Linked DNA regions of Homo sapiens: all the other regions are linked to region 6. The links are contacts of gene promoters, found by promoter capture Hi-C in blood cells and fetal thymus (Javierre and others, 2016). All regions are on one chromosome and are shown on one strand. The core of a region is centred on a gene start or on the middle of the fragment in contact, and the rest is flanking DNA. Distances in the headings are between cores, read along the strand shown.

Region 1 (4,111 bases), core at 1,153-3,652, 420 kb after region 6:
TGGATGTCTATGTTGTCCAAATCTCATGCTGCAATATAAATCCTCAATGTTGGCTATGGGACCTGGTGGGACACGTTTGGGTCATTGGGGGCAAATTTCTCATGAATGGCTTGGTACATCCTCTCGGTAACCAAAAAGTTTACACTGTATCAATTCAAATAAGAGCTGGTTCATTAAAAGAACGTGGCTTCTTCACCTCATACTTGCTCTGTCTCTTACCATATAATATGTCCAGTTACTCTTTACCTTCCACCTTCATTTTAAGCTTTCTGAAATCCTCACCAGAAGCAGATGCTGGCACACACTTCTTATACACTCTGCCAAGCTGTGAGCCAAATAAACAATTTTTCTTTATAAATTATGCACTCTCAAGTATTTCTCTATATGCAAAAGAATCAATATAGTCTATAATGTTGTCTAAGTTTTTTGGTTGTTATTTTTTACCTGAATTTTCTATTATTGCAAACTGGGTCTTGATGTCTACAATCATTATGTTGCTATGTATATCTCGCTTCACTTTTATCAATATTTGCTTTATATATTTTGGAGCTCTGATGTTATGTACACATATACATATAGATAGATAAATATTTTAGTTATACATTCCTGCTAAATCAACTCACTTTACCATCATATAACGTAGGCACCAGCCCCACAGGATTAGTGGGTTTTTCTCCCTGTGTGCAGAGATAAGAGATTGTAGGGCCGGGCGTGGTGGCTCACGCCTGTAATCCCAGCACTTTGGGAGGCCGAGGCGGGCGGATCACGAGGTCAGGAGATCGAGACCATCCCGGCTAAAACGGTGAAACCCCGTCTCTACTAAAAATACAAAAAATTAGCCGGGCGTAGTGGCGGGCGCCTGTAGTCCCAGCTACTTGGGAGGCTGAGGCAGGAGAATGGCGTGAACCCGGGAGGCGGAGCTTGCAGTGAGCCGAGATCGCGCCACTGCACTCCAGCCTGGGCAACAGAGCGAGACTCCGTCTCAAAAAAAAAAAAAAAAAAAAAAAAAGAGATTGTAGAAATAAAGACACAAGACAAAGAGATAAAAGACAGCTGGGCCCGGGGGACCACTACCACCAAGACGTGGAGACCGATAGTGGCCCCGAATGTCTGGCTGCAGTGTTATTTATTGAATACAAAGCAAAAGGGGCAGGGTAAAGAGTGTGAGTCATCTCCAATGATAGGTAAGGTCACGTGGGTCACGTGTCCACTGGACAGGGGGCCCTTCCCTGCCTGGCAGCCAAGGCAGAGAGAGAGAGGGAGAGAGAGAGACAGCTTATGCCATTATTTCTGCATATCAGAGACTTTTAGTACTTTCACTAATTTTGCTACTCTTATCTAAAAGGCAGAGCCAGGTGTACAGTATGGAACCTGAAAGCAGACTAGGAGCGTGACCACTGAAGCACAGCATCACAGGGAGACGGTTAGGCCTCCGGATAACTGCAGGCAGGCCTGACTGATGTCAGGCCCTCCACAAGAGGTGGAGGAGTAGAGTCTTCTCTAAACTCCCCCAGGGAAAGGGAGACTCCCTTTCCTGGTCCGCTAAGTAGCAGGTGTTTTTCCTTGACACTGAGGCTACTGCTAGACCGCGGTCTGCTAGGCAACGGGCGTCTTCCCAGACGCTGGCATTACTGCTAGACCAAGGAGCCCTCTGGTGGCCTTGTCTGGGCATAACAGAAGGCTCTCACTCTTGTCTTCTGGTAACTTCTCACTATGTCCCCTCAGCTCCTATCTCTGTATGGCCTGGCTTTTCCTAGGTTGTGATTATAGATCGAGGATTATTATAATATTGGAATAAAAAGTAATTGCTACCAACTAATGATTAATGATATTCATATATAATCATATCTAAGATCTATATCTGGTATAACTATTCTTATCTTATATTTTATTATGCTGGAACAGCTCATGTCCTTGGTCTCCTGCCTCGGCACCTAGGTGGCTTGCTGCCCACAATATAATATCAATTTTTGTCTTGTAGAAGTACTTGATTTAAAGCATATTATGTCTAATATAATTATGACCACCTTACTCAATTGTGGTTGCTATTTTCATGGAATATACATTTTTTTCATTCTGTTACTTTCTGCCTATTTGACTTAATGCTAAAGTAAGTCCCTTGTAGGCAGCACACTGTATGCTTTTTTAAAAAAACCACTTAGGCATTCTATATCTTTTTCTTTATATAATTTTATTTATATATATATTTATATTTGTATTTATTTATTTATTTATTTTATTTGGTTTGTTTTTGAGATGGAGTTTCACTCTTGTTGCCCAGGCTGGAGTGCAATGGCATGATCTCAGCTCACTGCAACCTTCACCTCCCAGTTTCAAGTGATTCTCCTGCCTCAGCCCCCTGAGTAGCTGGGATTACAGGTGCATGCCACCATGCCCAGCTAATTTTTTGTAAGTTTAGTAGAGACGGGATTTCACTATGATGGCCAGGCTTGTCTTGAACTCCTGAATTCAGGTGATCTGCCTGCCTCAGCCTCCCAAAGTGTTGGGATTACTAGCATGAGCCACTGCACCCAGCCTCATTTATTTTTGAGATAGTGTCTCACTCTGTCAACCAGCTTATTTGTATTTTTTGTAGAGACAGAGGTTTGCCATGTTGCCCAGGCTGATCTTGAACTTTTGGGTTCAAGTGATCAGCCCATCTTGAACTTCCAAATTCCTATGATTACATTTCATTTTATTTAGTAGTTTAATCTATATTTAAAATGATTGGTTAAAGAAATGAAGTTGTTATTACCACTAATATTGTTATTGTTTTATGTGTTTCTAGTAGTTATATTTTTCTCATTTCCTGTTTTACTTACTTAATTTTCATTTAATTTTGTACTGGCATGCTTTGATTATATTTTATTTTCTTTTGCATACTTTGTATAAATAATATCTTAGTAATCATCTCAAAAACTGGAGATTACATACATCTTAAAGTTAAAACAATATATTTTAATCTCATAACAACTTCAATTGAATAAAAACTATGCCTCTATATTTTCCAGTTTGTTATTGATATAAAAATTATTTTATATGGTGTATCTACAGGTGCACGCCTGTTATCCCAGCACTTTGGGAGGCCAAGGTGGGTGGATCCCGAGGTCAGGAGATCGAGACCATCTGGCCAACATGGTGAAATCCCATCTCTACTAAAATACAAAAAATTAGCCAGGCATGGTGGCCCATGCCTGTAGTACGAGCTACTCAGGAGGTTGAGGCAGGGGAATCACTAGAACCCAGGAGGCACTCCAGCCTGGGAGACAGAGTGAGACTCCATCTCAAAATATATATATATTTCCAAATATTCAGTTTGGTCTTATTATATTGACATTGTTATGCAACATATCACTAGAGTGTTTTTTATCTTGCAAAGCTAAATCTCAGTACACAGTAAATAACTACCAATCCTTTGTATTTTGTGGTTCTTTTCAAACACCACTCTGTTTTCTGTTTCTAAGAGTATAACTGCTTTATATATCTCATCCAATCTCTGTCTTTTTGCGGCTGGGTCACTTTATTTTGCATAATGTCATCAATATTTATCTTAATAGTTGTTACAGTATTTTCTGCTTTTTGAAAACTGAGTGATAATTCCTGTACTTTTGTGTCTACTGAATGATTTGGTGACACAAATTTCGATTACTTTTACCTAGTGGCTTGCAGTAACAATGCTACAATAATTATGTGAAAGTTAATGTAATATATTTGCTGCATTCTGTTTTATTAGTCTACTTTTTCACCTTTATACTCATACCAAATTATTTTAATTCTGTAGCTTTTTGATGTGTTTTGAAATCAGAAATGGTATTGCCTGTAACATTGTTCCTGTTTTTGAAGATTGCTGGGTACTTTATTGTCTGTTTGGATTCCATATACTTTTAAATTTGTTGTTTTTATTTCTTTGAAAATGCTGTGAGTCATTTGAAAGACATTGCATTAAATCTGTAGATTAAATTGAGCAGTAAAGACATCTTCAAAATATTGTTTTTCAATTGTTTGTTTTTGAGATGGAGTTAAATTTACCTGCCTTACCAGTTACATTTGTGCCATTTTGGTTTGTATGTTTTTGTTACATTTATATGTTCAGGAAGACATTACAGCTTGT
Region 2 (4,058 bases), core at 749-3,248, 440 kb after region 6:
TATCGGTGCACACTTCCTGTACCTACTCCTTTGCCCTTATTTCTCCTCCCCCCACCTATTCATCTCACTAAGACACATAACCTCAAACTGTCATATATGCTCTGTTACTTCCTCCCAAGGGGCCCTCCGCTCTCCTCCTATTCCTACACATCAGCTCAGAGGAACACTCCCAGAGGAGGACTGACAGGTAGACTTCACCCACATGCCTCCCGTCAAGAAGACAAAATTTCTTCTTACTCTTATAGACACCTTCTCTGGGTGGGTAGAGGCATTACGTACCTCTTCAGAAAAGGCCGCAGTAGTCTCTCAAATCCTTACAACAGAAATCATCCCTATATTTGGTCTCCCTCACTCCATACAATCAGACAATGGCCCTAGCTTCATCTCCCAGATCATCCAACAGGTTTTTCAGTCCCTTGGCGTCCAGAGGTGCTTCCGTATCCCATAATGGCCCCAGTCATCCAGAAAAGTCAGAAGGGCAAATGGGATCCTTCAGGCTCAGTTAACCAAACTCAAGCTTAAAGTCCAAAAACCATGGACCTCCCTTTTGCCCATAGCACTGGCCTGCATCAGAGCAAGTCCGAAATCACCCTTCTTCCTTAGCCCATTTGAGTTAATGTATGGACGCCCTTTCCTCTTACAAAACAGGCCTCCTCTCGACTCCCAGCTAGGAGAATATCTCCCAACCTTCTCCCTTATCCGTCATCTCCTCTGTGAATGATCAAGCCCTCCCAAAACCCCACAAAGGCCCCACTGACTGGACTCTCCTACCAGGAAAGTATGTCTTCCTAAAAACTCTTAACCCAACAAGGCTAAAACCAAGGTGGGAAGGCCCTTTTCAAATTATCCTTACAACCCCCACTGCAGCCAAACTCAGGACATGCCTCTTGGTACCATCTTTCCAGAGTAAAAAGGGCTCCTGCAGTGCCTACTGAACCACAGACTGTCCTCCACCAATCCTCCAGCACCCTCCTTTGTCCAACCAAACTCTGCCTGACGCCCATCCCTGAAGAAGGCCCACGAGCGGTAACTCTTTTACATATCACTTCTGCCCCTGCTACAGATGCCAAGGTCCTCGTGACAAGGAACAGCCTCACCCTACAGCATACCAAATATTAGAATCCCTCTCTTCTCTCCCCATTTCCACATGAGGAAAAGTCTTAACCCACCTATACCTTGCCCATCTGCAAGGAGAATTTGACCATCCATGGGACGCTATCAGCCACCTCATAGACCCCCTAGAAGAAGCCACCTCCCTGTATGGATCCTACCAGCTCCTCTCTCCAACAACAGATTCTGATTCTTCCTCAGATTCCTAATTCTTTTGACAGCCAGCCCCATGGCCTCTACCTCCTCAGGGTCCCTTCTCACTTCTACAAGTCTCGAATGATCTCTCAACCTCACTCACTTTTTGTTACTGTGCTCCAATTCAACATTTGCTTCCAGTTTCTGGACCTATTTTTGCCTTTCCTCTACTGCCTACTCAGCTATCCCAATTTCTTAGCCCTGAGACCATTTTCCCATTCACTTCTCTTACAACATCCAAAAGGGACCTGCCTTTGTAGACAGAGCCCTCACTCTCACTGGAAACTATCCCACTGCCCTCACTGACAGAGCTACCAAGCTCCTCTTCAATCTATATTGCCAACTATGATGACTCAAAACTCCCATACCCCACCATCCAAGGTCTCATAACTCTCCATACCACAAGACTTGGCCAAGCCCCCTTATGCATCACCTCTTCCAATGGACACGTACACGTAGGCACCCTCCTTCCCTCTGCCTGTAACTCAACCCGAACCATCTCTCACCCTTCCTCCCATATCTCACTCTGAGTGGATTATTCAGTCTCCCCTGAAGTCAACGGTCTCTTTACTCAGCCCTTCTGCATTTCCTCCCTCCCACCTCTCAAACATGGAAACCCCTTCCTTGGACAGGAGTGCTCAAAGGGGTTTCTGTCTCTTTCTCACTCTGGGTTGCTGAAGCTGAGCCAAGTCCCTCCAAGTGGGGAACCTACAAACTGCAACACCTACTCTCAATCCACCTGTCTGTTTGCATAAATACCTCAGGCATCTTCTTTCTCTGCGGGTCCACAACATACTTCTGTCTCCTTACTAACTGGACAGGCACTTGCGCCCTAGTCTGCCTTACTCCCAACATTAACATTGTCCTTTCAAACCAGGAACTCCCTGTTCCAGCTACAATACATACCCACTCAAAAAGAACAATACAGTTGATTCCCTATTCACAATAGCAAAGACATGGACAGGCCCTAAATGCCTATCAATGGATAAAGGAAACACGGTATGGTCAGACGCGGTGGCTCATGCCTGTAATCCCAGCACTCTGGGAGGCTGAGGCAGGTGGATTGCCTGAGCTTAGAAGTTTGAGACCAGCCTGGGCAACAGGGCAAAATCCTGTCTCCATGCAAAATACAAAAATAGAAATTGGCCAGGTGTGGTAAAGCACATGTGTAGTCCCCCCACACCAAGTACTTAGGAGGATGAGGTAGGAGACAATTGCTTGAGCCTGGGAGGTTGAGGCTAAAGTAAGCCAATATCATGCTATGACACTCTAGCCTGGGCCATAAGTGTGACCCTGTCTCCAAAAATAAAATAAAATAAAAGATTTAGTAAAAACAAAATATGGTACATAAACATCGTGGAATACTCTGTGGCCATTAAAAAAAGTGATCATGTCCTTTGCAAAAACATCAGTGAACCTGGAGACCACTATTCTTAGAAAACTAACGGAGAGCCTGGGCATGGTGGCTTGTGCCTGTAATCCCAGCGCTTTGGGAGGGAGGTGGGCAAATCACCTGCAGTCGGGAGTTTGAGACCAGCCTGACCAACATGGAAAAAGCCCATCACTACTAAAAATACAAAATTAGCAGGGCATGGTGGCATGCACCTCTAATCCCAGCTACTAGGGAGGCTGAGGCAGGAGAATCGCTTGAACCTGGGAGACGAAGGTTGCAGTGAGCCAAGATTGCACCATTGCACTCCAGTCTGGGCAAAAAGAGTAAAACTCCATCTCAAAAAACAAAACAAAAAACAACAAAAAAAGAGAAAACTAATACAGAAACAGAAAACCAAATGCATGTTATTATTTATAAGTAATAGCTAAATAATAAGAACACATGAACACAAAGAGAAGAACAACAGACACTGAGGCCTAGATGAGGGTGGAGGGTGGGAGGACTAAGAGGATGAGAAAACAGACCTGTTTGGTGCTACGGGTAGTACCTCAGTGACAAAATAATCTGCACACCAAACCCCCATGACATAATTTTAGCTGTAAAACAAAGACACATGTATATCCCGAACCAAAAATAAAAGCTAAAAGAAAAAATATCCCTGGATGGCAGAGTGCAATGTAGCTGAAAGGACTGATTTTCACTACAGATAGTGGCCCAGGTGGGGCTGTACTGATTTATTTCTGTGTGAATGCAGGCAGATGAGATCATGAACAGGTGGCCCAGAAGCTTAGGTTGGTGGAGAAAACAAGTTGCTGCTGCAGATTCAGTGTCTGAGGGTGGGGATATGCCAGAAGACTTGTAGACACTTGTGGGTTCTTGGCAAGAAACACTAGGATCAAAAATGCAGTGGTGAAGTTCCTGAGGGTGGTGCCTAGTCCTGGGAGGAGTGTGGACACATCAATGTCTAGTGTGTGTGTGTTTGTGAGTGGGTGGAAATCCTGTGGTGGCAGATGCAAGACAGGGGTGTCTGTTCTTAGAGGTCCTTTTCTCTAAGTTTTCAGTCTTCTGTCACCCTGGGAGAAGACCTGGAATCACAGGAAAATGGGCAGTGTGACAGCCTGTGTACAGGAGAGCAGAGCCTCCCATTTCCAGAAACCCAGAGTTTTACTCCAGGCCAGGCCTCCATAATATCTTTTTTTCTGGCACCAAATCTGTAGTTTGCTGAACATCAAACTATCCTCCAACACCAACTCATTGTCTAACATTTGAATTCTGACACCACCCAGAGTCAGCACAGACCCTGATTCAGGGCTCGGTCCCACAACACTGTCCTCACTGCAGATGCCAGCCACAAACCCCA
Region 3 (3,744 bases), core at 1,165-3,664, 260 kb after region 6:
TTACTGCAAGCTCCGCCTCCCAGGTTCACGCCATTCTCCTGCCTCAGCCTCCCGAGTAGCTGGCACTACAGGTGCCCGCCACCACGCCCGGCTATTTTTTATGTATTTTTAGTAGAGACGGGGTTTCACCGTGTTAGCCAGGATGGTCTCGATCTTCTGACTTCGTGATCCGCACGCCTCAGCCTCCCAAAGTGCTGGGATTACAGGCGTGAGCCACTGTTCCCGGCCTGACAACACTGATTAATAAATATGACCATGCATATTCTCTTTAGAAGAAACTCACTTCCAATATAAAAAGGTAAATTTAGAATAAGCCCTCTCCCTCTCCCCCTCCCCCTCCCTCTCCCCTTTGCACGGTCCTCGTCTCCCCTTTGCACAGTCTCCCTCTGATGCGGAGCCGAGGCTGGACGGTACTGCCGCCATCTCGGCTCACTGCAGCCTCCCTGCCTGATTCTCCTGCCTCAGCCTGCCGAGTGCCTGCGATTGCAGGCGCGCGCCGCCACACCTGATGGTTTTCGTATTTTTTGGTGGAGACGGGGTTTCGCCGTGTTGGCCGGGCTGGTCTCCAGCTCCTGACTGCGAGTGGTCTGCCACCCTCGGCCTCCCGAGGTGCCGGGATTGCAGACGGGGTCTCGCTCACTCAGTGCTCAATGTTGCCCAGGCTGGAGTGCAGTGGCGTGATCTCGGATCGCTACAACCTCCACCTCCCAACTGCCTGCCTTGGCCTCCCAAAGTGCCGAGATTGCAGCCTCTGCCCGGCCGCCACCCCGTCTAGGAAGTGAGGAGCGTCTCTGCCTGGCCGCCCATCGTCTGGGATGTGAGGAGCCCCTCTGCCCGGCCGCCCAGTCTGGGAAGTGAGGAGTGCCTCTTCCCGGCCATCATCCCGTCTAGGAAGTGAGGAGCGTCTCTGTCTGGCCGCCCATCATCTGGGATGTGGGGAGCACCTCTGCCCTGCCGCCCCATCTGAGATGTGAAGAGTGCCTCTGCCCGGCCGCGACCCCGTCTGGGAACTGAGGAGTGTCTCTGCCCCGCCGCCACCCCATCTGGGAGGTGAGGAGCGTCCCTGCCCGGCCGCCCCGTCTGAGAAGTGAGGAGCCCCTCCGCCCGGCAGCCGCCCCATCTGGGAAGTGGGGGGCAGCTCCCGTCCGGCCAGCCGCCCCGTCCGGGAGGTGTACCCAACAGCTCATTGAGAACGGGCCATGATGACAATGGCGGTTTTGTCGAATAGAAAAGGGGGAAATGTGGGGAAAAGAAAGAGAGATCAGATTGTTATTGTGTTTGTGTAGAAAGAAGTAGACATAGGAGACTCCATTTTGTTCTGTACTAGGAAAAATTCTTCTGCCTTGGGATGCTGTTAATCTATAACCTTACCCCCAACCCCGTGCTCTCTGAAACAGGTGCTGTGTCCACTAAGGGTTAAATGGATTAAGGGCGGTGCAAGTTGTGCTTTGTTAAACAGATGCTTGAAGGCAGCATGCTCTAAGAATCATCACCACTCCCTAATCTCAACTACCCAGGGACACAAACACTGTGGAAGGCGGCAGGGCCCTCTGCCTAGGAAAACCAGAGACCTTTGTTCACTTGTTTATCTGCTGACCTTCCCTCCACTATTGTCCTATGACCCTGCCAAATCCCCCTCTCCGAGAAACACTCAAGAATGATCAATAAATACTAAAAAAAAAAAAAAAAAAAAAAAAAAAAAGCAGAATAAAATCAGAAAAAAAAAGGTAAATTTAAAGTATAAGAAGCTGGGCAAGGCGTGGTGGCTCACTCACGCCTGTAATCCCAGCACTTTGGGAGGCTGGGGTGGGCGAATCACTTGAGGTCAGGAGTTCAAGACCAGCCTGGCCAACATAGTGAAACCCTGGCTCTACTAAAAATACAAAAATTAGCCAGGTGTGGTGGCTGGTGCCTATAATCCCAGCTACTTGGGAGGCTGAGGCAGGAGAATCGCTTGAACTGGGGAGGCAGAAGTTGCAGTGAGCCGAGATCACGCCACTGTACTCCAGCCTGGGCAACAGAGTGAGACTCCATATCAAAAATAAATTTAAAATAAATAAATAAAGTATAAGAAGCTGGAAAAAGATACAAGTAATCAAGGAAAGCATGAGTAGTTACAATAATATCGGATAAAGTAGATTTCAGAGAAAAAAATTGAGACATGGAGAGAAATTACATAATGATAAAAAGCTTAATCCACCCAGAAGACCCAGCAGTCCTAAATGTGTAGGCATAAATCAACAGACATGAAAAATGTGAAACAAAAACTGGAACAAACAGAGGAGAAACAGACAATAAGACAAATACACAATTATCGTTGGAGATATTGACATTTTTCTCTAAACAATAGAACAGAGAAAATTTCAGCAGCAAATCTAAAAAAAAGACAACAGTTCAACACCATCATTCATCAACAGGATCTGGTTGACATTTGTAGAGTAATTTAATCAACAGCAGCAGCATATGCATTCTCTTCAAGGGCTCATGGAACATAAAGTAAGATAGACCATCTCCTAGGCCATGAAACAAACTTCAACAAATTTTAAAAATCAGATTACACGGAGTGTGTTCTCGGATCATAATGGAGTCAGACTAGAAATCAATAATGTGAAGACAATGCAAACATCTCCAACTCTTGCAAGCTTGAAGGGGAAGTCCCTGGGAAAACAAAAAATACATTGACCACAAAGATGATGAAAAGACAATGGATCAAAATTTGTAAGACACAACTAAAGCAGTGTACTGAAGAAACTGATGGCACTAAACTCATATATTAGAAAAGGCTGGTCGGGCGCGGTGGTTCAAGCCTGTAATCCCAGCACTTTGGGAGGCCGAGGCCAGGAGATCCAGACTATCCTGGCTAACACGGTGAAACCCGGTCTCTACTAAAAATACAAAAAAAAAAAAAAAAAAAAAAAAAAAATTAGCCGGGCGTGGCAGCAGGTGCCTGTAGTCCCAGGCTGAGGCAGGAGAATGGCATGAACCCAGGAGGCGGAGCTTGCAGTAAGCCGAGATGGCGCCACTGCACCCCAGCCTGGGCGACAGAGCAAGACTGTCTCAAAAAAAAAGAAGAAAAAAAAGAAAAAAACTAAGTCTCCAGATAATCTAATTTTCCACATCGATAACCTGGGAAAAGGTCAAACTTAATAAACTAAACCCAAACAAAAGAAGTATTAAGAAAGAAATAATAAAGATAGGAAGAGAAATAAAGTTGAGACTCAGAAAGTAATAGAGAAAAACCAATAAAACAGACAGCTGATTTTTTTTGAAAAGATCAATTAAATAGACAAACCTCAAGCAAGACTAAGTGGGGGAAAGGACAAGACACAAATTACCCTGTCAGGAATGAAACAAGGGATATCGGCCAGGCGCGGTGGCTCACGCCTGTAATCCTAGTACTTTGGGAGGCTGAGTCAGGTGGATCACAAGGTCAGGAGTTCGAGACCAGCCTGGCCAATATGGTGAAACCCTGTCTCTACTAAAAATACAAAAAATAAAAATTAGCTGGGCGTGGTGGTGGGTGCCTGTAGTCCCAGCTACTCGGGAGGCTGACGCAGGAGAATTGCTTGAACCCAGGAGGTGGAGATTACAGTGAGCCAAGGTCGGGCCACTGCACTCCAGTCTGGCTACAAAGCGAGACTCCATCTCAAAAAAAAAAAAAAAAAAAAAGAAACAAAGGATATCATTACATACCCTGCAGACATAAAAAGAATAATAAAGTGTATTAGTCGTCTAGGGCTGCCA
Region 4 (3,760 bases), core at 527-3,026, 400 kb after region 6:
TGTGTAATAAGACCATTTTCTTTCTGTTCTATTATTGTGGAGTTTCTCTGAAAATAGAGAAAATTTTTCTTTTAATTATTGTTTCCACAGAGTGTCTAGAATTACCAGACATGATATAAACACATAAGGTGCCAACCAGAATTTACTGTAGAGGGGACTTTCCCTCTCAGACTTTGAGTCAGCCCATACTTGCGCAGCAAAATGCATGCTGTCCATTAAATATGCACGTGGAATTTTGTCTCTGCCTATTTGGTATTGATAGTTCCTCTACTGTCACTTCTAGAGAGGCTAGACCCAATTTCTACAAACTTCACAGGGCAGCAATTAATTAATCATTTAACCTTTTTCAGTGACTCTTGTATCTTCAGATTTGAAACTGATTCAGAAACTATGGAGCCCAGAAACCCAATCAGAGTAACATGTGTGTGCTGAGTAGACATAGAGACATGAGAATCTCCACTTTCCCCTTCCTCCTCTTGCTAAATGCTCACAAATGTACAGGTAAACACCTGTGGCTACTCCAGTCGTTCAGGCCCTAAACTTGAAGCTCCAAATTTTGAATCCAGGTCTTGAGATTTGGGGGAAAAAAAAACTTACCTAAGAAATGCAAGTCCCTTTGGTTATCAAACTCAGACATTAAAATGAAAGTACTGTTATGTCTTTCTCCCCCCTTTGAACTATGTATTCATCTCTTGAAACTGTTCACTATTGCCACAAGTAATTATAAATTAAACTAATAATGCCACATTAGACACTATATCCCATACCCTAAACCATAATAATATATATGTAATCAATAATCGATGTTATTTCTGTAAATAAATAAAAATTTCTGACAATCAACTTTGTATCAGCCCACTCTCTGTCCCTGTCTTGTTGTCTTTACAAATTGTCTTGTAACTGCTGGTAATCAAAATGCAGATTCCAGGCAACTTGAATCTTTGCTCCCAGGTTATAATCCTTAAGCTTGACCCAAGTAAACTATCTACTTATATTCATGTTCTTTCAGCTTTTTTTTTTTTTTTTCATGTAGACTTACCATTTAGAATGTGCTAGAGTAGTCTCTATGAGGGGATCTCTCCTTTGATTGTATTCCACTTGCTGTAACACCAAAGGATGCAGAGCCAGGTGGATCCTACCTGGAATCTGCAGATAAGGTCTGGCCTCTGCCTGGGATTTACAAGAAAGGACCAGAACTTGGATTGAGAATGTACAGAAAATGAACAAAAGTCATTTTCTGCATTGTGAATGTAAACATAGACATCTTACAGCCCCCATTTGGGAGTGTGGCTCTTTGAGATTTTCACATCTTGTTCATTGACCTGCTACAGTTATGTGAGGGGCTCCAGGAGAAATAGACTCAGATGGCAGAATCTGTAAGTGTAAATAAGCATCTTAGGAGTGAGAGATCGGGGCCACAAAGTATCCAGAGCCATGACCACAATTATATTTAGCTGTAAAATGTAATACTAGAGTAGAGTATTTTTGATCTTTCTCTTACCCAAGAGCTAGCAAATCAGAATGGGTGATCCAGGTTCTGGAGCTCCACCAGGGCAGTTCCATTTTCTATTCAGAGTTAGCCTGAGTCTCTCCAGCCTGGCTTATCATTGGGCCATGAGGCCTGGGTCACTGGGAATCTCTCACAATCACCCAGGTGTCTTTGAGGCATTTGAGGATGTCCAGAGCAGAATTTTGTCAGGCTGACAAGAGTGGTTAATTCTGCTTCTGTCTCAGTGTAAGAGAAATGAGTCATCCTGTGTTTGTTCATTCCCTCATACAAGAGATATCTTTGGTTGGTACCCCGATGACAGCTTCTCCAGTTTCCTGGTACTTGGATAATAAGGAGAAGATCTGGAGACCCAGATAGATAAACTAGCTCCTTCCACTTCATATGGGCATTAAAAAAATACATGAAGCAGTCATAGTTCCTACAATCCAGAAACTTTTAGTCTAGACTAGCTACTGGATAAGTAATTGAAGTGTGCATCATATGGTTGGTATAATAAATAGATGTGTTAAAAATCTTGGGCTTTAGACCACTTTCTTTATATTGTTGTGACTTCTGATGTCTACACCTGAAGGGAGATTTATGAACAAAATAATTGTTATAAATTCTTTTTTTTTTTTGAGATGGTGTTTCACTCTGTCACCTGGTCTGGCTTGCAGTGGCACGATCTCGGCTCACTGTAAACTCTGCCGCCCGGGTTCAGGTGACTTTCCCTTCTCAGCCTCCCGAGTAGCTGGGATTACAGTTGCCTGCCACTGCACCTAGCTAATTTTTGTATTTTTACTAGAGGCGGGGTTTCATCATCTGGATCAGGCTGGTCTTTAACTGCTTGACCTCGTTCTGCACCCGCCTTGGTCTCCCAAAGTCTTGAGATTACAAGCATGACCCACCGCGCTTGGCCGTATATTTTCTATTTCTTTTACCTTGCTAACTGTAGATATTTATTTTCTAATAAAATTACCCTAGAAAACCTTAAGGGATTTGTTTAAGTTGCATACTAGTATATAGTATAAAGTTGTCAGGGCAGTGACTAGAAAAGATAAAAACTACAGAAACTCTGGGATTTAAGTTTCTTTTAGGTAAGCTTAGAAACAAAACAAAACTGGAAGTTTCCTAGTTGCATAGAGAACAGAATTCTACATAGGGTTCTCACCCTGCCCCAGACGTGTTCAGATTCATCCTTTTTGGAGACCTTAGTTAGGTCTGAACCTACCCTGGAGTATTGCCTCACAGAACTCATTAAAGGAGATCAGAGTTTTGGCTGCTGAATCCTGCTGCCTTTCTAGAGCTGGTGCTCACAATTTCCTGAAATTCAAAAGCAGATAAATCGGGAAAAAAAGTATGTTTTGTAAGGTGTTTGTTTTTAAATTTTTTATTAAAACCAGTGCTTGCAGAGACATTGTATTTAGCAACTTGTTTTCTATTCCTGCAGATCCAGTAGTTGCTGCACAAGTCAAAAAAGTAAATATAAACAGAATGAAATTTTCTCTAGACTACATTAAACTCTTCTGTATCTCTTTCATCTGTCTATATTTAGCTTTTATTCTATACAATTTTTTAAAAAATTTGATGACAGAGAAACAGAAGAAAAAATAAAAATGGGCCCTTTATCTAAATCCTGAAAATTAAGAAACACTTAGTACCAGCTCCCCGGGTGTTAAGAGAATTAAATCATATAATGTGTTATGCCCAGCACCGTGCTCTGTATCATACTCTAGCACATAGTGCCTGCTTAATAAACATTGCATTAGTACCTGTGTACATGTTCTTTTTAAAATACAGACTTATTCAGATATTGCTGTCTTCTGTTTCCTCTGTAAATTTTAAAGAGCCAGCAAAAAATATAAAACTTTTAAATGGAATGGGCTGTCCTTATTTTTACTAGAAGTATTTGGTTATGGCAAGAGTGTTAAGTGTAAGGGACCCTGTGCTGTTCCTGCTTTCTCTAACTAATGCTCATAATGAGCCAGTGGGGAGCAACATCAGCATTGACAGGGGACTTGTTTAAAACACTCATTCATAAACCCTCTTCAAACATACAGAATCACATTACAGAATGTGCGGCCACAATTATCAAGTGATTTATAAGCTCGTTAAAGCTTGAGAGGCAATGCTTAGCTTAGTGGTTATCAGCCCAGGCTTCTCATTAGGATCACATGACCAATTTGCTGAAATCTCTTGTACCCTCCCCACAGCTTCTGTTTATTGTTGTGGGTGGAAGCATCCATGTTTTTTTAATGAAGTGCCTCATGT
Region 5 (3,530 bases), core at 481-2,980, 450 kb after region 6:
GTCCAGTTCTGCACCCTTGCTGAAGAGACATTGTGATCATTTGGAGGAGAAGAGGCACTTGGGCCTTTCAGGGGTTTTTGTTGATTCTTTCTCATCTTCATGAGTTTGTCTAGTTTCCATCTTTGAGACTGCTGACACTTGGATGAGTTTTTTTGTTCTGTTTTGTTTTGTTTTGAAATAGAGTCTCACTCTGTCACCCAGTATGGAGTGCAGTGGCACAATCTTGGCTCACTGCAACCTCCGCCTCCCAGGTTCAATTGATTCTCATGTCTCAGGCTCCCAAGTAGCTGGGACTACAGGCATGCACCACCACGGCAGTCTAAGTTTTGCATTTTTTAGTATAGGCAGGGTTTCACTATATTGGCCAGGCTGGTCTCGAATTGCTGACCTCAAGCAATCTGCCTGCCTCGGTCTCCCAAAGTGTTGGGATTACAGGTGTGAGCCACCACGCCCAGCCTTGGATGGGGTTTTTGTGGGTATGCTTTTGTTGTTGATGCTGTTGTTGTTTCTTCCTGTTTGTTTGTTTTTCTTTCAATAGTCAGGTCCCTCTTCTGTAGGGCTGCTGCAGTTTGCTGGGGGGTCACTTCAGGCCCTATTCATCTGTTTCACTCCTGTACCTGGAGATGTCACTCAAGAAGTTTCGAGAACAACAAAGAAGGGTGCCTGCTCCTTTCTCTGGGATCTCTGAACTCAAGAGGCACCAACCTGATACCAGTAGGATCGCTCCTGTATAGAGTGTCTGACAACCCCTGCTGAAGGGTCACACCCAGTTGGGTGGCATGGGGAGCAAAACCCATTAAATGAAGCACTTTGACTGTTCCTTGGTGGAGGAGGGGCTTTTTGCTAGGGAAAATCCCACTCGTCTGGGCTGCCCGAATTCCTCAGAGCAAGCAGGAGGAAAGGCTAAGTCTGCTGATTCACAGAGGATGCAGCCTCTTCTCCCCCTAGGGGCTCAGGCCCAGGGAGATCACAGTTCTGTCCCTGAGCCCCTGGCTGGAGCTGTTGGAGTTCCTGCTGGGAGGCCCTGCCCAGTGAGGAGGGATGGGTGAGGGTCAGGCCTGAAGAGACATTCTGGCTGCAGTCAGCCACAGCCGGTGTGTTGGGCTGTGGGGGACACCTCTTGAGACCAAGCTGTCCAGCCTCCCTGGCTCTAGCAGGGGAAAAGTGTGGTCAGGAGCTATAGATATGGCTGCTGCCTTTCCCCACCCAGGGATCTTAGCCTGTTAGGCAGTTGTGAGTCCCCGTGCTGGCTGCTGTCCCTCCCCCAAGGAGCTCAAACAGCTTAGACAGCAGCAAGCCACAGCTGTGGTGCTGGTCGTCCCTCCACTGGGAACTTAGCAGGCTTAAGCAGATTCTAGCTGAGAGGCTGTTGAGAATCTGCTCAGCTCCAGGGTTGTGTCAGGCACAGTAAGTTCCTCTTCAAAGGGTAACTTCCTTGTTCTTTGTTCTCAAATTCAACTTCCTTGTACCTTCCTGCTCCTAACTACCTGCTCTTCCTGCCAGTAAACAACTCTTCCAGCCAGTCCCAATCTGTAACCCACATCTCTTCTTATTTGGAAGAAGTCCTCCTCACTCCTAGTTACCTGCTCTGTAAACAAACTTCCCGCCTTTCTCTATTTAGCCAATCCAGTTAGTTTAGATTGTGCAGTCTGACTCCAGCCAATGGGGACAGGACACAGAAGTAGGGACTGCATTAGGGATAAAAACCCCTTCCCTCTCTTGTATGGTGTGCTCTCACAACAGCCAGAGACATGAGCAGCCTCTTCTGCAGAAGTAAATTTGCCTTGCTGAGAAATTCGTTGTTTGAGTGCTCATTTTCTTTGTGACTCCAAGCTCTTGTTTCCAACAGTTGGAACCTTAGGCTCCAGTGGCGTGGGTTCACAAGTTGAATCTTCTAATCAGTGGGATTCACTGTTCCATAGAGAAAGCGCAGTTTCCCAGACTGAGTAGCCTGCTCACTCACTGCCCCCCTTGGCTGGGGCTGGGGGCTCCCCAGCCCCATTTGGCTGTCAGGTGGGTTGCCACACCACACTGCTTTTCCTTCCTCTCCATGGGTCACACCAGCCACCTAGTCAGTTCTGATGAGAGAAACTGGATACCTCAGATGTCAGTGCAGGATTCACATGCTATTATGGTTCTTTTCTATGGGATGCTGCTGCTAGTCAGCCATCTTGGCCCCACCCCCACCAATTTTTCTTTGAATGTCTGATAGAGTTCAGCAGTGAATTCATCTGGTTCTGAACTTTTGTTTTTGCTTGGCAATTTGTGAAATTATTATTTCAATCTCACTGCCTGTTATTAGTCTGTTCAGAGTTTGTTTTTTTAATCTAGGAGGATTGCACATTTCCAGGAATTTATTCATCTCCTTTAGATTTTCTAGTTTTTGCATGTAAATGTGTTCATAGTAGCCCTGAATGTGATCTTTTGTATTTCTGTGGCATCAGTTGCAATAGCTTCCATTTCATTTCTAATGGAGCTTATTTGGATCTTCTCTCTTCTTTTCTTGGTTAATGCTGTTAATGGCCTATGAATTTTATTTATGTTTTCTAAGAGTTAGCTTTTCATTTCATTTATCTTTTGTATTTTTTTTCCGTTTGTTTCAGTTCATTTAGTTCTGGTCTTTCTTTTCTTCTGCTAGGTTTGGGTTTGACTTGTTTTTGTTTCTCCAGTTCCTTGAGGTGTTATCTTAGATTGTCTACTTACGCTCTTTCAGACTTTTTGATGTAGGCATTTGATACTATGAACTTTCCTTTTAGCACTGCTTTTGCTGTATCCCAGATGTTTTGATAGGTTGTGTCACTATTATCTTTCAGTTCAAAGAATTTTTAATTTCTATCTTGATTTCATCCAACGATCATTCAAAAATGGGTTGATCTTAAGTTTAATGTTTTTTCCAAAATTTATTTAATTTTCAAGTATTTGCATGGTTTTGATGGTTCATTTGGAGTTGATTTTCAATTTTATTACACTGTAGTCTGAGAGAGTAGTTGATATGGTTTTGATTGTCTTAAATTTATTGAGACTTGTTTTGTGGCCTATCATATGTCTATCTTGGAGAATGTTCCATGTGCTGATGAATTAAATGTATATTCTGAAGTTGTTGGGTAGAATGCTCTGTAAATATCTGGCAAGTCCATTTCTTCTAGGGTATAGCTTAAGTCCATTTTTTTTTTGTTATTGTTGACTTTCTGTCTTGATGACTTGTCTAGTGTTGTCAGTAGAGTATTGCAGTCCCCCATTATAATTGTATTGCCATCTATGTAATTTCTTAGGTCTAGTAGTAATTGTTTTATAAATTTAGGAGCTCCAGTGTTAGGCGCATACATATTTAGAATTGTGATATTTTCCTATTGGACTAGTTTCTTTATCATTACATAATGTCCCTCTTTGTCTTTTTCTTTTTGACTGTTTTTGCTTTAAAGTCTGTTTTGTCTAATGTAAGAATGGCTACTACTGCTTTCTTTTGGGGTATATTTGCATGGAATATCTTTTTCTAACCCTTTACCTTAAGTTTAAGTGAGTCGTTATGT
Region 6 (3,809 bases), core at 1,081-3,580:
TAGTAGAGACGGGGTTTCACTATATTGGCCAGGCTGGTCTCGAACTCCTGACCTCAGGTGATCCACCCGCCTTGGCCTCCCGAAGTGCTGGGATTACAGGCGTGAGCACCGCGCCCGGGGTTTTTCTTTTTCTTTCTTTTTTCTTTTCCTTTTTTTTTTTTTTTTTTTTTTTTAAGAGGCAGGGTCCAGGGCGCGTTGGCTCACGCCTGTAATCCCAACACTTTGAGAGGCCGAGGCGGGTGGATCACGAAGTCAGGAGTTCAAGACCAGCCTGGCCAAGATGGTGAAACCCCGTCTCTACTAAAAATACAAAAATTAGCCGGGTGGGGGGACACGCGCCTGTAGTCCCAGCTACTTGGGAGGCTAAGGCGGGAGAATCGCTTGAACCCGGGAGGCGGAGGTTGCAGTGAGCCGAGATCGTGCCACTGCACTCCAGCTTGGGCGACAGAGCGAGACTCTGTCTCAAAAAACAAACAAACAAACAAACAAACAAACAAGAGATGAGGTCTCGGCTGTGATGCCCAGGCTGTTTTCGAACTCCTGACCTCAAGATATCTGCCCGCTTCGGACTCGCAGTGTTGGGGTTACAGGCGTGAGCCACCGCGCCTGGCCCTTGGCTCTGCCTTTTGGCAAGTGACATCCATGTGGGCCTCAGTTTCCTTATCTATAAACTCCTACTTTACGTGGAGACAGGCCACCCTCGCCCCACCCCTGGCTGTTCCATTCTTAAAAGATGTGGACGGCGAGGCGCTGGGGTCCACTTGCTTCCCAGCCCATCATCACAGCGACATCACGACCCGGGGACAACAAAGCTCCTTTGAGTTTGCCCATACTGGGGAGCTCAAAAGGTCCAGGCTCGAATCCTCCCGACTCCCTTTTGAGTCTTGGAGCAATAACCTCAACATGCGTGACTCTAAAATAGGGTACCCGCGCCTGCCTTCCCCGGATGGAGCGATCGCTTCTCCACTAGTCCGCAAATGGGGGCCACCGTTAGAGCCAGGTGCGAGGAACAGCGAGTTTATTGCAGGTTCCAACCGGGAACCTGGCACCCACGGCTGGTTGGGAAGGGACGCCCTCCGCGCAGAGGCTGAGAGTTCCGCGCAGGCGCAATGCTTCCGTCCCCTCTGGTCTCGCCCTCTCGGGGCCTGGTCGCAGGGAATCGCGGATGCGCATGCGCCTCCAGCTCCCGGGATCGCGGGGAACGTGGATTCCGAACAAGGGCAACTGCGGACTCCCCCGTGGGAAGAAAGGGAGGGAAGCGGAAGGGAAAAAGCGCATGTGCAGCAGCACGCGGCAGCTTCGCATATTCCCTCGAAGCGCGCCTCTTGCGCGTGCGCCGCCCTGGCCCAGTGCCCTTGGCTGCAGGAATGGCTGGAACCACCCGGCTTCTAGCCGGAGTCCCCGGCGCGCAGCCAGCAGTTGCGCGCTACCTGGCCCGCGGAGGGCCTGGCGGACGGGCTGAACTGCAGCAGCTCGGCGATCAGGGCCTTGCAGCGCTCGGACAGCTCGAGGCCTTCGGGATAGAGCACGCCGCGTTTCTGGCGCCGGGGCAGGCCGGCGATGTCCGAGTCGTCGAAGGGCATGCACCCGGTGACCATGACGTAGAGCACGACGCCCATGCTCCACACATCGTACTTCTTGGGGTCGTAGGGGATGCCCAGGAGCACCTCGGGTGACGCGTAGGCGGCTGAGCCGCAGTAGGTGGTGCTCAGGTCTGGGTAGCCATGGGCCTGGCGGCCGAAGCCGAAGTCGGTGAGCTTGACGCGGCGCTCGTCCGGGCTCAGCAGCACGTTTTCGCACTTGAGGTCGCGGTGCACCAGGTGATGATCGTGCAGGTAGCGCACGGCGCCGGCGATCTGCGCAAAGAGGTCGCGCGCCTGAACTCCGGGGATGCGCCCGTTGCGCTGCACGGCTTGCAGCAGGTCGGTGGCGGCCGCTTCCATCACGATGTACAGTTTCCCGTTGCACACCTCGATGAACTCGAAGACGTGCACGATGTGCGGGTGTCGCACGCCCCGCAGGATGGACAGCTCTCGCGGCAGGAACTTGTTGACGAAGTCCGGGGGCGCTCGCCGCCGGTCCACCACCTTGATGGCCACGGTACCCTTGTACTTCTTGGATGTGGCCACCTTCACCTTGGAGTAGCTGCCCTCTCCAATTGTGCGGCCCAGCTTATAACCGAGTTCGCTCAGAAGTTTGTCTCCCGACATGGTGGCGCCTAGGGCGCACGGGGGGCAGGAGGCGGCTGCTGTCGGGGGGCGGCCGGACTCCAATCTCGGGTCTAAGCCATGGCGCTTGGCACCTACACCCCCGCACCCCCATGTGCCCACTGCCAGACATTGGCCGCTGTTGTGCCTTTTATTGCCCCGTAACAATTTTTGCCTTGTGAAGTGACTGCGGGCGTCACTCCGCCTTAGGGTGGGGGTCCGGGACCCCGCCCCGGGGCCACCCTAGCCTCCCTGCTTTGTGACTCATAATCATCCTGAATGGTCAGTTTCCGATGAGAGGCCACTAGCAAGGGATACCCATCACCACCAGGGAGCAGAATCCGTTCCAGGGATTGGGGTGAGTCCGACTTCGAGCAGCAGCTGCCCCCCAACATCATGTACCCAGCCCGTGACTACGTGGAGCCCTGGGCTTCGCGTAGAGTCCCTAGACGGGGCGAAAACGGGAAAAGGGGCCTTAACTGGGGCACCTGGCTCCTTTGAGAGCTCGGAGTTTCTGACTGGCCTGCGCAACACCCCAGAGGCAAGGTGAACGCGAGGGCCTATAATGCAAGAACCAAGGCGAGTCACGCCCTGTCTGGGCAAAAGAGGAGTAAAGACCCCTCAGCTGCAGCCCGGCAGCGCATTCCTACCCAGGGTCCGCCGCCAGAGCTTTCCCGCGCGGTCGGATAGTTACACTACTGTCCGGGACTTCCTAGCCGTGCCGCGGACCATCTCAAGTGCTTCCGCCACACTCATCATGGCGGTGGCAGTAAGTCACTTCCGCCCGGGACCGGAAGTGTGGGATACTGCGAGTATGGCGGCGTCAAAGGTGAAGCAGGACATGCCTCCGCCGGGGGGCTATGGGCCCATCGACTACAAACGGAACTTGCCGCGTCGAGGACTGTCGGGTCAGTATCACTCTGCGCCGGGGTCTCAGAGTCTGGGCACTCGGGGCTCGGGGGCGGGGTTCCGGGGACACAGGCGGGCCTCAGTTTTCCCGGCGGTGTGACCGGAGGCGGAGCCCGGGGATCCATCATAGCTTCTGTAATAACGCTAAGTGCTGCAGTTTGTTGAGGTCTTTCCCAGCTCCTCTTCCTTCTCGTAACAGCCCAGGAAATCGGTCCCTCTAGTTATTTACGTTTTACAGTGGGTTAAACTGAGTCATAGCCTGTGCTCTGGCCCTCAGCCACCCTTGGATTTCTAAGATGGGGAAACTGAGGCCCAAAGAAGGCCGCGGCTCCCCAAGGCAAAGCTGAGGCCGCAACCCGGAACCTGGAGGGAATTTACAAGATGTTCTATGCAGTGGTTCCCTGCTGGCAGCCCCCGCCTGCATGGTGTCACAGGAATCCATATTCTTTAAATTTTCAATTTTTTTTTTTTGAGACGGAGTTTTGCTCTTGTTGCCCAGGCTGGAGTGCAATGGCGCCATCTCGGCTCACCGCAACCTCCGCCTCCTGGGTTCAAGCGATTCTCTTGCCTCAGCCTCCTGAGTAGCTGGGATTACAGGCATGTGCCACAACGCCTGGCTAACTTTGTGTTTTTAGTAGAGACGGGGTTTCTCCATGTTGGTCAGGGTGGTCTCGAACTCCCAACCTCGGATGA

What was found. The method cuts DNA at HindIII sites, captures the fragments that hold promoters and counts their contacts. A CHiCAGO score of 5 or more calls a contact.
Region 1: a fragment that was not itself captured here is called in contact with the fragment with the promoter of TSSK6 in region 6 in 2 of 17 cell types (total CD4 T cells and naive CD4 T cells); the score reaches 5.6 in total CD4 T cells.
Region 2: a fragment that was not itself captured here is called in contact with the fragment with the promoter of TSSK6 in region 6 in 6 of 17 cell types (naive B cells, non-activated CD4 T cells, total CD4 T cells and 3 more); the score reaches 8.0 in naive B cells.
Region 3: a contact is called between a fragment that was not itself captured here and the fragment with the promoter of TSSK6 in region 6, in 1 of 17 cell types (non-activated CD4 T cells). The highest score is 5.1, in non-activated CD4 T cells.
Region 4: a fragment that was not itself captured here is called in contact with the fragment with the promoter of TSSK6 in region 6 in 1 of 17 cell types (non-activated CD4 T cells); the score reaches 5.1 in non-activated CD4 T cells.
Region 5: a fragment that was not itself captured here is called in contact with the fragment with the promoter of TSSK6 in region 6 in 9 of 17 cell types (naive CD8 T cells, naive B cells, activated CD4 T cells and 6 more); the score reaches 8.9 in naive CD8 T cells.

What each region holds. Positions count from the first base shown.
Region 1 is chr19:19,928,954-19,933,064 of GRCh38, forward strand. The region is part of intron 3 of ZNF93 (zinc finger protein 93); the gene reads left to right. Among named protein-coding and RNA genes, the nearest start is that of ZNF93, 30 kb to the left of the region's middle. The HindIII fragment of the contact is 4,278 bases long and covers 264-4,111 here.
Region 2 is chr19:19,948,896-19,952,953 of GRCh38, forward strand. It overlaps the pseudogene BNIP3P12. Among named protein-coding and RNA genes, the nearest start is that of ZNF93, 50 kb to the left of the region's middle. The HindIII fragment of the contact is 2,967 bases long and covers 516-3,482 here.
Region 3 is chr19:19,769,148-19,772,891 of GRCh38, forward strand. All of the region lies in intron 1 of LINC00663 (long intergenic non-protein coding RNA 663), which reads right to left. Among named protein-coding and RNA genes, the nearest start is that of LINC00663, 5.4 kb to the right of the region's middle. The HindIII fragment of the contact is 452 bases long and covers 2,189-2,640 here.
Region 4 is chr19:19,909,641-19,913,400 of GRCh38, forward strand. All of the region lies in intron 1 of ZNF93 (zinc finger protein 93), which reads left to right. Among named protein-coding and RNA genes, the nearest start is that of ZNF93, 11 kb to the left of the region's middle. The HindIII fragment of the contact is 1,625 bases long and covers 965-2,589 here.
Region 5 is chr19:19,965,291-19,968,820 of GRCh38, forward strand. It overlaps the pseudogene BNIP3P12. Among named protein-coding and RNA genes, the nearest start is that of ZNF93, 66 kb to the left of the region's middle. The HindIII fragment of the contact is 4,313 bases long and covers 1-3,530 here.
Region 6 is chr19:19,513,218-19,517,026 of GRCh38, forward strand. TSSK6 (testis specific serine kinase 6) reads right to left here and starts at 2,331. Exons shown (of 1, transcript NM_032037.4): 1 at 1,002-2,331. The coding sequence starts at 2,210. The coding sequence ends at 1,389. It overlaps NDUFA13 (NADH:ubiquinone oxidoreductase subunit A13), which reads left to right and starts at 3,008. Exons shown (of 5, transcript NM_015965.7): 1 at 3,008-3,115. The coding sequence starts at 3,022. RefSeq lists a silencer at 2,577-2,696 and an enhancer at 2,907-3,186. The HindIII fragment of the contact is 18,272 bases long and covers 1-3,809 here.